2 separate regions of the Homo sapiens genome follow, and region 2 is linked to region 1. The links are contacts of gene promoters, found by promoter capture Hi-C in blood cells and fetal thymus (Javierre and others, 2016). All regions are on one chromosome and are shown on one strand. The core of a region is centred on a gene start or on the middle of the fragment in contact, and the rest is flanking DNA. Distances in the headings are between cores, read along the strand shown.

Region 1 (6,094 bases), core at 2,062-4,561:
CAGGTCCCCAGGTCCCTGGGCTGATGTTCCTCAAAGCTAGGTGTGCTCAGGGCTGGGGGGCTGGGGGTGGGGACAACACTGGTCATGAGAGAGGAGTGGGCCCTCATCTGAGTCGCCTGGTGTCAGAACAGACCTGACCTCTTGTCTACACAGCACCAGGGGTCTGCTTGGTGGGGAAACGGTCCAGCCCAGCCTGAGGAACCTCCTGCAGCATGTTTTTCCTGGCCCCTGGGCACCAGCAGCCCTTCTGCCTGCCTATTCCCTAGCCTCCAGCTCAAAACCACTTCCTGAGCCCAGAATGGGTAGGATCTCTTCAGCACCCCAGCCCTTAGAGGAAGAGGTGGTGAGAAGGTAAGGGACTCTGGCCAGAGACCCTTGAAGCATGGCTGGGGACAGGGGAGCTGAGAGTAGGGGGAATTGTTGCTTCCCACCTGGGAAGGGTGAGGAGAAGTCAGTCACTGTGGGAGGTCACAGGGCTTGATGGCCACAGTGGGCCCTTTGTGCACAGACCATTGAGCCACTGAATGGGGCCCTCAAAATGCTTCCTGGAAGAGGGCAGGCTGGGCTCAGACCCCCGGGCAGGCATGAGCTAGTGGGGAGGCTGGAAGTCTCAGGTATGTGTGTGGAACAGGGGATGAGGACAAGATTGGTGGCTACAGTACTGTGGAAGAGAGCACCAGACCTTGAAGAGCTTCTCCAAAGATCCCATATCCATTGGCAGCTTTACTGGGGCAAGAAGAAAATCTCATTTCCTCAACATGTTTCAGAAGTGTTCTAGGTTCTGGGGATACAGCAGTGAATAAAAAAATACAAGTCCATGCTCTTAAGGAGCTTGTCTCCTGATAGGAGAGACAGGCAAGAAACAAATCAATAAATAATATAAAGATCAGGATCATGAAGCAAAATAAACAGAGGCCAGGAAACTGAGGGCAGCAGATGTGCTGTTTTAGACGGGATGGGTGAGGAAGGTGTCTGGGATAAGGTGGCATCTGAGCAGAGACCTGAGTATGCGATGGAGCAATCCATGCAGCTGTTTAGGGGGAAACAAGAGACAATAGAAGAACGTTTCCCTGAACGAAGAAAGACTTGAGTTTCCAGATTAAAAGGATACACCAAGCATAGAGTAGTAACAATGAAAACAGAAGGAGGCTAGAGTCAGACATATCCTGGTAAAATGTGTGAAATTCAAGCATGGAGAAAGATCACTCCAAAAAGGCACCAGGCCCAAATGGTTTTATAGGCAAGGTCATACAATATTTAACCAATATAATTTATATCCTTCCAAGGCCCTTTTCTATACTTGATTATGTAGAAGTAGGGAAGGAATTGCTTTGGAAGAAAAGAAACTTAGAGATTTTCACTGCTATGAAGATAAATCTTTACTGTTTTTGGTCATCTGTTTTGAAGAGCACCACCTGACTTTGTTCTCTCCTTTCTGCCAAGGAATCTCAATGATAGATTCTCCCCACTATATTGAGGGAGCTTTTCTCCTTAGATATGGTTTGGGGTAAATGCTGTACCTAGCTGTAGGGCATTAAAGATTGTGGTGAAAACTTGGGCTTTACTTACTCTGAGTGAGTTGGGAGCTGCTGGAAGCTTCTGAACCCAGAAGGGACCTGATCTGACTCAGGTTTTAACAGGACCATCTTGGCTGTTCTCCAGTTTCTAGCCAGTGGGGCCTCCTCCCTGTGTGCTGAAGGTGCTAACGATGTGTCTTTGCTTCCAAGCTTTTTCTGACCTTTTGCTGCAGCTTTCACCAAGGAGATGGGAGGCACTAGACTGAGAGTATGTGAGGAGTGAAGACCGAGGGCGGGCAGGGCAGATGGAGAAGTGCTGTGGCTATGCCCAATCCAGACCTGCACTGAGACAAAATGAGGAATACAGGCCTCTATCTCTTCTCTTATGAAAATGGACAAATTCCACTGTTCTGCCCAGGCTAGCCAGGGCTGCTGTAATGCCAGAGTGGTCATTCCAACTTCTGTGAACTAGAAAGCCTCTCACCATCCTCAACACAAATGTCCTTAAAGCCCTCTGGCAACGCATTGGTTTGGCTCCTAGTGGCAGCAGCAGCTGAATCCCTGGCACTGACCTGGTGCACAGTGTCCCCAGATCCCTGGTCAAGCAAGCCTAGACCTATAGCATTCCAGAGAGCCTGGAAAGGGTATGGTTAAAAATTCCTGTTCTAGCAATGTCTTCAAGAAGAAGCAGGAGAAAATGCTCCCCACCTCCCAGTGCCAGGAGGGGAGAGGAAGGAAGCTCAGTAGGACAGCTCTGCACAGGTGGCCTGGGGGTGTCTGCAAGATGACCTGGCTCTACCTCTCTACCTGCTCCTTCCCAGCTGTGGGGCTGGGGAGGGCTGGTGCCCTCTCTGAGTCGGTTTCTTCATCTGTAAAGTGCTTGGCTGAGGATCCAGCTGGAGTGTGGATTAAAGGGCACAGCAGGGTGCCTAGCACCGTCAGCCCACGTGTTTTTCTTGGGCAAGCCACTCTGAGCCTTACTCTTCCTGTCTCTAAGCGGGAACCCAAATGCGAGCCAGGATTGCTGCGGACTAAAGCAGTCTACGAACGCTTTTGTAGACTGCGAAGCATTGTTTGGTCTTCAGAAAGGTGCCCCAGAGACAAGGTGTCATTGGTTTCAGGTGGGGGGGGGGGGGGCCGGTCAGCAAACCTCCTTAGTCCTGGAGGGCAGGGTGGCAGCGCAGAGCGCGCGCAATTTCCGGAGGGTAACTGATTGTCCTGCTGAAAGCCCAATACCGTATTTATCCAAAAATACGTCCTTCTAGGCAAGTGATTTATCTGACACTCAGCGGGGGACAGAGCTGCTTGTACCGCGCTGGGGATGAAGGTGGGGACGTGGGCCAGACCGGGCCAGACAGGCTCCCCAGCGCTTCCCGCTCAATCACGCAGACTGCACTTTGGGGCGATCTCAGAGCTTTTCTTAAGTCTTCAGGCCAGTCTCACGTTCTCACCTTGGGAACCGAGCTTTAGAAGCCGGCCCTCGTGGACGCCGCGAGACAGCGGCGAGAGGTGGGAAGCAAGGAGGTGGCTGCGGGCCAGGGACCAGGCAGCGTGTTGGGGGGCGTGCGCGTCTGGCAGCTCCGGGATCCCCGAGCATCCGCCGCTCAAGTCCGGGAGCCGCGCGGGCGGGCCGGGGCGGGGCCAGGGCGGGGCCAGGGCGGGGCGGGACGTGTGACGCGCAGCGCGGGCCAATGGGGCGCGCGCCCGGGGCCGAGCCTCCTGCGAGCCTTCGCGGCGCCCGCTGCGTCACGTGAGCGGCGGGGAGTGAGTGCCCAGCGAGCTGCGGGCGGGCTAGTGCTCCGCCGCAGCGACCCGCGGGCCGGCGGGCGATCGAGCCAGCGCAGGACCCGCGGCTCGGCCCCCGGCCGCCGCCGGACCGAGAGTCTAGCCGCCGCCCCCAGCCCAGCCCGCCCGGCCGCAGGACCGCCGGGGCCTGGCCGCCGGTCCGGCGTGCGCCAAGTTCAGGTGGGAGAGGCGCGGCGGGGCCGGCCGGCCGCGTGGACGCGGCCCCGGGTGATCAGAGGGCTGGCCGGCCTCGGGGCGCGTGGCCGTGCTCCCGCGCAGCTCTCGGAGGCACCGCGCGAGTGCTGGAGGAATGTCGGAGGAGCGGGATGGGCCCCCGCGGAGGTGGGCAGGGGTCGGACTGGCCCGGGGGAGGTGACCCCCCCCGCCCCGGTCGCCCACCAGCACTTTGCTGAGGCCCGCGCCGCCGCCTCGGTGCCTGGCCGGGCGATTCCGTGGCGCGCCTTGCGGGCCGGCCCTCCCATATGGTGGGCACCGGCGCGGCCTGGTGAGAGGAGGGGGAGAGCGGACGCGCTGGCCAGCCCGGGGTTGGGGGGCGGAGGGGCTGGAGACGGAGGGGTTACTGTCGGTCACCGCAGCAGTGTCGGGGGCAAGGGGGGGGCGTGGGACGAGGGCATGGTGCCCAGCGGGCAGCGGTCCAGGACTCTAGAAGGGGTCTGAGCCGGCTCTCTTCATTTCCCACGCACGTTTCCCCTCACCCGCCGGCACCCACGGCGGCTCCACGCGCGAGTCCTTCGCGGACAGCCTCCCGCACAGCCACAGCGGCTGCCGCGCACCACGCCCCGCACACGCAGTCACACGACAGGAACTCACACCCCTTCACGCACACCCGCACCGTTCACGCGTCTCACTCCACGCTGAGTCCCCGTCCGCTCAGACCGAACATTACCAAAGCCATGGCCTGACCGAGGGATGGCGGCGGCGGGGCAGAGAGGCCGTCCCCATCCCATATGGTGGTCCGGTTCACTCTTCCCTCCCCGCCTTGGTGTTACTCATGGAACCCCCCTCTCACGGAGGGCACAGAGGGGCTGTTTTCTCCCACGGCCCTCGGAGGTGACAAAATCAACAATTGTTTGAGAGCCTCAAATCTCCTTCCCCCTGTCCCCCCGGACCAGGTGGCCCCTGGGGAGACCCTGCCGCCCTACAGGTGTGAGGACGCCCGGACTCTGCGACTTTGGGGCCTGCGGGCGGCTCAGGGACCGGAGACTCTTATTTTGAAGGACAGCCCCCGCCGCCACCCCCGTGATTTGCACGCTGACCCAATGGCAAGCCCTTGGCCGGCGCTGGGCTTGTTATCAATTACATGTTGTTCCTGCAGCCGCTGTGTCCCCGGGAGGATAAACAGCAGGCCTGGCCGGGCCAGGGGAGGGGGCGGAGTCCGGCGGCCAGCCGGGGACTGTGCCCGGAACAGCGTGTCCCCTCCCCCTGCACGCAGCCTGCGCCTCTGGCCGCCCCACGTGCTGCTGTGTTTCAGGGGCCGAGCCAGCTCCAGCCCTAGAGTGTCCTCTCTTTAATGCCGGTGCCCTGGGACATCCCAGAGCCCTTTCTGGGTTGTCAGTGCCTGGGTGCTTCCCCCTTGGGACGTTCAGCCCAGCATTAAGACCCTGTTGGCTGACCTGGGCCACCCATTCCTACTCTCCGACCTCCCCCGCTCTCCCCCGCACCTTCCATTCACTCATTCAGCAAATTTTGCCCGGTCCTGTTTTAGACTCTGGGATATGGCCTTGGAGTGAACAGTCAGGACAGCTGATATTCTGATGGGAAGGTAGACAGGGAGGAAAGTTCACAAACACATCACCAAGATAGTTTCCCACAGTAGAAACTGCAGGGAAGAGTATAATATAGGATGATGTAACAGAGTGGGCCTGGAGGCCCCCACAGGGGTGACTTCTGAGCCGAGATCTAACTAAGCAGCTCCCACCTGCAGTGCTGGGGGAAGAGCCAGGGCAGTGGCCCCGGGCTGAGGCTGAAGTGAAGTGAGCACACCTGGACTAGAAGAGAGGCAGTTGGTGGTGAGGTCTGCAGAGAGTCCCAAGGGCCCAGGTGCTGGGCTGCTGCGAGGAGATAGGGCCACCTGTCCTTGGGAAGCCATTGGAGGGTGTTTCCTTCCAGCCCCCCTACTGTACTTTTTAGATCACTTTATCTGTCAATATCTGTTTATATGTTTAAAAGGTAAGGCCTCCTTTAACCACAATATGATCATCACAATTAAAAATATTAACAGTAATTACTTAATATCATGGGATGGCCAGTTAGTGATCACGTTTCAGGGGAGGGCTCTAAGGCCTGCTCTGGGTCCCAGGAGGGCTGGAGGCCCCTGATTCCTTAACATCACAGTAGAGGGGCAGAGGCCGAACGTTTGCCGTGCCTGCAGGCTGACACCAATGGCTGGCACTGGCTGAGTGCTGCCGGTGTGCCAGATCCTGAGGGGGGTGCTTAGTGAGCGTCAGCTCACGGAATTCTCACAACACCTGAGGAACCAGGCACTGTTGGAAGCACCCCCATCTCACAGACTGAGACAGACACAGAAAGGCTGTGCACCTGCCTGAGGTCACCTGGCAGACAACTTGCAGACTCAGAAATGGAGCCCCTGCTTGGAGGGTGGGAAAGGGTTGGGGGAGGCCCAGGGTGGAGTGTGGGCTCTGCCCAGCCTTGTGCCCTTCACAGTGTCTAGCACTTTCATTCCTTCCCAGCACCTGATTTGGTGAATAGGTGCATTTTAAAACATATTCCAGGTTTAAATCCTTAGCTGAGTATTTAAACCAAAAAGCCAA
Region 2 (6,231 bases), core at 2,826-5,325, 1.2 Mb before region 1:
GAATGAGAAAGGGAATGGCGGGGAGACATGTTAGCAAGAGTAGTGGGTGAAGGCCTCTCTATGGAGGTTACATTCCTGCTAAGAAGCTGAAGCCTGGGGAGATGCAGGCATAATAAGAGCTTTCCAGGCAGAGGGGACAGCAAGGGCAAAGGCCCTGGGGTATGTCCAGGCTGGGCTGATGTGCATAAGACCAAAGATTAAAATGGAGAAGAGTTAGGGGAGATCAGCGGGGCCTCCGTGTGTGCTAGCACCGCCCCTGTGAAGTTCACAACAGTCTAACAAAAGGGGACCTGTGGATCCATATTGACTCAGAGAGGAAGGGACCTGAATCGCTCAGCAGGGGCAACTGCAGTAGCCAGGACTGCTCAGAATGAAGAATAGCCCCAGGTGCCCCAGCCACGTGCCCACATGGCTTTCCCTGGTGGAGCAATTAGATGGGCTCCCAGGACAGAGCCGGGGCAGGCAGGCCCGTTGCCACTGAGTGTGAGGAGGGGCTTTTGACCCAAACATCTGACCATGGAATGCCCTCCCTGTAAGGAGGTGAGCTTCCTATTCTGGGAGGAATTTGAGCATAGGCTGGGCAACCAGTCGAGAGGGTTTCATAGAGGAAATCCCTGCTTTGAACAGTGTTGGGCTGCAACGGTGTTTTCCAGCTGCTGGCCATGGGGACTTGCTGGGGGTGTGCTCACCCTGTGTGATGCTGGGCAGGCCACCTCACTGCTCTGCAGCTCAGCTTCCTCAGCCATAAAGTGGAGCTGGTGATGGTACCCACAGAGAGCGTGCTAGGTGACTTAATGCAGCCAACACCCTCGGAACGCTGTCGGGGGAGCTGCTGTGTTATTATAACAGCCATGGGCTTTCACCCACTTGCTTTTCATCTCTTTTTCTTTTGATTTGAAAATCTCAAAGCACGCATATGGTAAAAAACAAAAACAAAAACCAACCAACCATCCAAAAGGATCAGCAGTCAAAGGTGAGTCTCTCTCCAACCCCTGGCCCCACGTTCCCCCTGGAGGCCATCACTGCCAGCACTTGAGTGGGGGATTGTAATCCTTCCAGAGATATTCCACACGTAAGGAAATGCCTTTCCCACACAAACTGTAGCATTCTATATATATCCTTCTGTATTTGGCTTCTTTCCTCACTCCTTGTCAGAGCCATGTACATTGATTTAAAAAATTTTAAATTTCTGAATAGGAAATATATTCTCACGGGGCTTAAAAAGTTACAGTGATGTATATTGAGAATTCTTTCTCTCCTTCCTGTTCCTGACCACCCCATGCCCCAGACAGGTGACCACTTGTACTGATTTCTTATGGATCCTTTTAATGTTTCTTTACACAAACATATACAAATAGACATTCTTATTTCTCCACCCCATTCCTACACAAAAGCCTTATACTGTGTGCGTGGTTCTGCATGTTTGTTTTTCTGCTAACATCTACTAGCATGGCCCAGGGAATGCAGCCTCTCTTGGCTCGTCCCTAAGTGTTAGAGTGTGCAGATTCTTCATTCATTCATTCATTCATTCATTCATTCATTCATGTATTTATTGGACATCCATTATGTGCCAGGACTGTTCTGGGCCCTGGGATCTAGCGGTAGTGGTGAGTCTCACAGCAATGTGGAAGGACCTGTTTCCCAACAGCATGTGGAATTTTCCTATCAGCCCACGGAGCCTCCTCACTGTCTTCAACAACTGTGCGGTATTCCACTGTGTGCCCAAAGCAGAGTTTGTCTAACCAGCTCCTAGATGGGTTGTTTCCAATATTTTCATGATTACAAACGGCAGCAGTGCCTCCCGTGGTGGAACTGTGAGGACGCATCATTTCGTGGTGCCCAGGATGTTTGCAAGACCCATGCTCAGAGGTAGGGTTGCAGGGTCACATGGTAAATATGACAGCCCTTTCTATGGACAGCTTCCCCTCCAGAGGGTGTTCCCTTGACTCTCATGGCAATGTGGAAGGACCTGTTACACACACACACACACACACACACACACACACACGCTGTCGGCAGCACTAGAATTCTTTGCTGTTCTGATAGGTGAGAAATGGTAACTTGATGTCATTAATTTCCATTTCTGTTATCATGTGTGGAGTTGGACATTTGTCATACATTTAGGGGCCTTTTGAGTTTTCTGTAAACTGTCTATTCAAGTTTTCTGCCAATTTTCGGGGGGGTTGTCTTTTCTAGATTTCTAGAAGCTTTTAATGTATTAGGTTAGACCAGGGATTGGCAAACTGTTGCCTGTGGGATAAATTGGGCCCACTGCCTTTTAAATTTTTTTGTAAATAAAATTCTACTGGAACAGAGCTGCACTCACTGTCTGTGGTTGCCTTCTGCCACCACAGCAGAGCTGAACAGTTGCCACAGATACCCTCATGGTCTGCAAAGCTGAAAGTACTCACTACACAGCCCTTTACACAAACAGCCTGCTGACCCTGTGCTAGACTTTTGTAATGAGTTTCAAACATTTTCCCCAGTTTCTCATTTGTCTTTTGACTTTTCCTTTTTCTTTAAGTGCATTTTTAGCTTAAAGATAGTTTCTGGTCGGGCACGCTGTCTCACTCCTGTAATCCTAGCACTTTGGGAGGCCGAGGTGGGTGGATCACGAGGTCAGGAGCTCGAGACCATCTTGGTCAACATGGTGAAATCCCGTCTCTACTAAAATACAAAAAATTAGCCAGGTGTGGTTAGCTGGGCATGGTGGCATATGCCTGTAGTTCCAGCTACTTGGGAGGCTGAGGCAGGGGAATTGCTTGAACCTGGGAGGTGGAGGTTGCAGTGAGCTGAGATCGTGCCACTGCACTCCAGCCTGGGTACAGAGCAAGACTCCATCTCAAAAAAAAAAAAAAAGTTTCTTGGACATCTTTTGATAGGGCTAAAGCTTGACTTCTGGAGGGTCTTGCTTCTCAAAAACCACCCTTTTTATATGCCAGCCTCTGAGGTTCACTGTCGCTTGTGTGTCTGGTTTTTTTTTTTTTTTTTTTTTTTTTTTTAAACAGGGTCTTGCTCTGCTGCCCCGGCTGGAGCGCAGTGGTGTGATCACGGCTCACTGCAGCCTCGACCTCCTGTGCTCAAGCGATCCTCCCGATCCTCCCGCCTCAGCCTCCTCAGTAGCTGGAACTACAGGTGTGCGCCACCAAGTCAGGCTAATTTTTAAAAATTTTTTGTAGAGATGGGGTTTCCCTGTGTTACCCAGGCTGGTCTCGAACTTCTGGGCTCAAGTGATCCGCCCTTCTTGGCTTCCCAAAGTGGTGGAAATACAGGCATGAGCCACCGTGACCGGCCTGTTGCTTGAACTTCATTCCAGTGCTAAAAGGAAATGCATGAAAAGACAGACTTAAACCAAAACTATGTAGACATTGATGGAGAATTTGGCACTTGGATACTTGGATTCTTACTGCTGAGATTTCAATGGTTTGAGACGTGAAGATTGAAGCTGGGGATATGATGATGCCCGTGTTACAGATGAGGACACTGAGGCTCAGACAGTCGTGCAGCCTGCTGGCCTGCGGGGACGGGGACAGCGCTGCGGGACGGCGCCTGGCGCTGGGTCGGCCACTCCCAGCTGGTGACCTTGGCCACTCCCAGCTGGTGATCTTGGCTGTGAAGCGAGATCCAGAGAGGGGAGGGGCCCCAAGGACCCAGCCGAGTGCGGGCAGGGCGGAGCTGAGCGTGGGTCCCAAGGGAGTCCCCGACGTTCTGCGGCCCCCCCAACGCCCGGCCTCTGGAGGCCGTAGGGGCTCCCTGGCCTCTCGCCCCCAGTGCAGCCCGGGCACAGTGCAGTCGCTCCGCGCCATGCTTGACGTGGGCACCAGGGGGCGGTGCGGCACCAGGCATGGCGGCGCGCGGGGCCGGGCTCCGGAAGGGGAGGGGGGCGGAGGGGAGGGGAGGGGAGGGTAGGGAAAGGGACGGGAGGACAGCAAGGGGAGGGGAGAGGAAGGAGAAAGAGGGGAGGAGAGGGGAGGTGAGGGGAGAGTAAAAGAAAGGGGAAGGCAGCGAGAGGAGGGGAGAGGAGGGGTTGGAGTAGGAGGGGAGGGGAAGGAAGAGGAGGGGAGGGAAAGGAGGAGGAGGGGAAGAGGAGGGGGCGCCTCCGGACTGCCGCAGGCCCCTCTCAGTTGCGCCTTTCGGAGGGGCTGGGCAGCGCCTGCCCTGCTGCCCAGCCCCGGGCTGTGCGTCTGCTCTGAGCTGCGCCAACACCGCCTGGCTTACTCCCCTACCCCTCCCCCGGACCCAGTCCTTGCCCCAGCTCCGTCCCTCCTCCCTTGACCCCTCCTGAGTACCCCAGCTTATGTCCCCTCTCCAGCACCCAGTCCGTGTCTCACCTCCAGACCCCAGCTCGCACCCCCAGCCTCAGACCGCACCCATTGACCACAGCCTGTGCCCCTCCCTCCCCAGTCGCACCACCTTCCCAACCCCAATCCTTCCCTCCTGAGTTCCCCTCCGAGCTTCATTTTCTTGCCTGGAGCTGTTTGGAGCCAGACTCTCAGGGTTTGAGCTGAGCCTGCCGCTGGCCTTGGTGTGGAATGGAAAGCCCACCACCGAGCTGGCTTCAAACCCTCCAGGGCTCCTGTCACCTTAAAATAGAATCCCCATGAATGCCCTGCCGCCCAGCTGACACCGCGGCTCCCCTCTCCCCTCCTCTCCTCTTGCAGCGGGCACAACAGCCTTCCTGCTATCCACAAGGCCTCAGGGTTGTGCCTGCCTCCTGCCCCAGCACGTGTGGCTCCCTTGCCTGGAAAGCCCTTCCCTGGCAATGCCCCTCAACCTCTCCTGATGGCCCAAAATTCTCTCTCCCCCCGATGGACCAAGTAGTCCCAATTCCTCCCTGGATGTTTCTGTTCCACTCCCCTATTTATTCCTTCCTTTTTCCCCCTAGAACTTCAGGGCAGCACCCTCCCAGTCTCTGTCTCCACGGGACCTCCCTCCAGCACTGACAGGGCTGCCTGGCACATGGCAGGGACTCAGTGACATGGGAGTGGAGGGTGACCTCAGTCTGGGACTATACCACTCGGCCAAGTGGACTCTGGATGAGGAGGCCTAGAGCCTGGCCTTCTCTGGGACGCTGGCCTGTTGGTCGTGACCTTGGCCTAAGCCCTTGGGGAGGGGACACGGGTCAGCTCACAACTCCCTGCTCTTGCTCACATTTGCTGAGCACTTGCTCTGTGCTAAGGGCTTTTCTTGAATCATCTCCTGGAATCTCATAATAATCCCAATAATGCGTCTCCTTTTTTGGATGAAGAAGCCAAGCTTCAGAGAGATTAAGCTACCTGCCCAAGGTTACATAGCTAAAAGTGGAGGCTGAGTTTGAACCCAGAGAGACAAGCTGCTCCTCTCCTGAGACAATGGGTACGTGAGCCGAGAAGCCCCCATGAACTTCACAGTGATTCTGTCAGTGAACAGTTGGGGAAACTGAGGCCTGCTGCCCAAGTGTCACAGCTAAATGGAGGCAGAGCTGGGGCTCCGAGCCCCAAGGTGAAGGGAAGAATGTGCTTCTTCACAGCATGTCTCCAGAAGCCCCAGGAGTGACTAGCTGGCCGGCCCCGAACCCCACTGGCCTCAGTTTCCCCTTGGAGGATAGCCCCATCCATGGTCTCTGGCTCTTAGGGTCTCTGAATTCATTCACATCTTGAAAGTTGCAGTTGGGAGTCTCAGGTCTGGTGGCAGGAAACTGAGGAGACAGTCGTGGAATCGGGGTGGGGAGTGGTGCGGGAGGATTGTTTGTTCCCTCAGAGACTCTCTAGTGTATGTGTCCCTTGTCAGCTAAGCAAGACGGGCTCACCACAGCAGGTGGGCTCAAGCCCACCTCAAGCAGAGGTGGCCCAGGTGGCAAACTCAGGTGCTGGGGGAGCAGGGCAGGACACCAGAGGGGCATGGGATTCGGAGAGTGGGGGCTGTGACCTCTGGTTTGAAGGGGCATCTGCAGACAACCCCGTGCAGAGCCAGGGCTCACACTGCCATAGCCAGTGCCACAGACTGTTGAAGAGATGCCGAAAGCCAAAACATCTTCGACGTGAAGGCTCCCAATGTTGTAGAGTTGGCAACGGATTCAAATTTTCAAAGCTATACAGGTAAAACAAACTAGTTCTAAGGGCTGAATTCAGCTGGAATGGCTGTTTCTGCTCAAATCCAGCTCTGCTTCTTGTTCGGAACCTCAGTTTCCTGATCCATTAAATAAGCCTAACAGTTCCTCCTGGTGGAGGATCATGTGGGCCAATAAGTAAT

Evidence for each region. Contacts are between HindIII fragments. The CHiCAGO score rates a contact against its expected background, and 5 or more counts as called.
Region 2: a contact is called between a fragment that was not itself captured here and the fragment with the promoter of KLF15 in region 1, in 2 of 17 cell types (fetal thymus and naive CD8 T cells). The highest score is 5.4, in fetal thymus.

Annotation. Positions count from the first base shown.
Region 1 is chr3:126,354,625-126,360,718 of GRCh38, reverse strand. KLF15 (KLF transcription factor 15) reads left to right here and starts at 3,311. Exons shown (of 3, transcript NM_014079.4): 1 at 3,311-3,482. RefSeq lists a silencer at 3,132-3,351 and enhancers at 3,250-4,009, 4,010-4,769. The HindIII fragment of the contact is 4,432 bases long and covers 1,730-6,094 here.
Region 2 is chr3:127,545,527-127,551,757 of GRCh38, reverse strand. The region is part of intron 6 of LINC02034 (long intergenic non-protein coding RNA 2034); the gene reads right to left. Among named protein-coding and RNA genes, the nearest start is that of LINC01471, 11 kb to the right of the region's middle. RefSeq lists a silencer at 3,515-3,834. The HindIII fragment of the contact is 2,366 bases long and covers 2,893-5,258 here.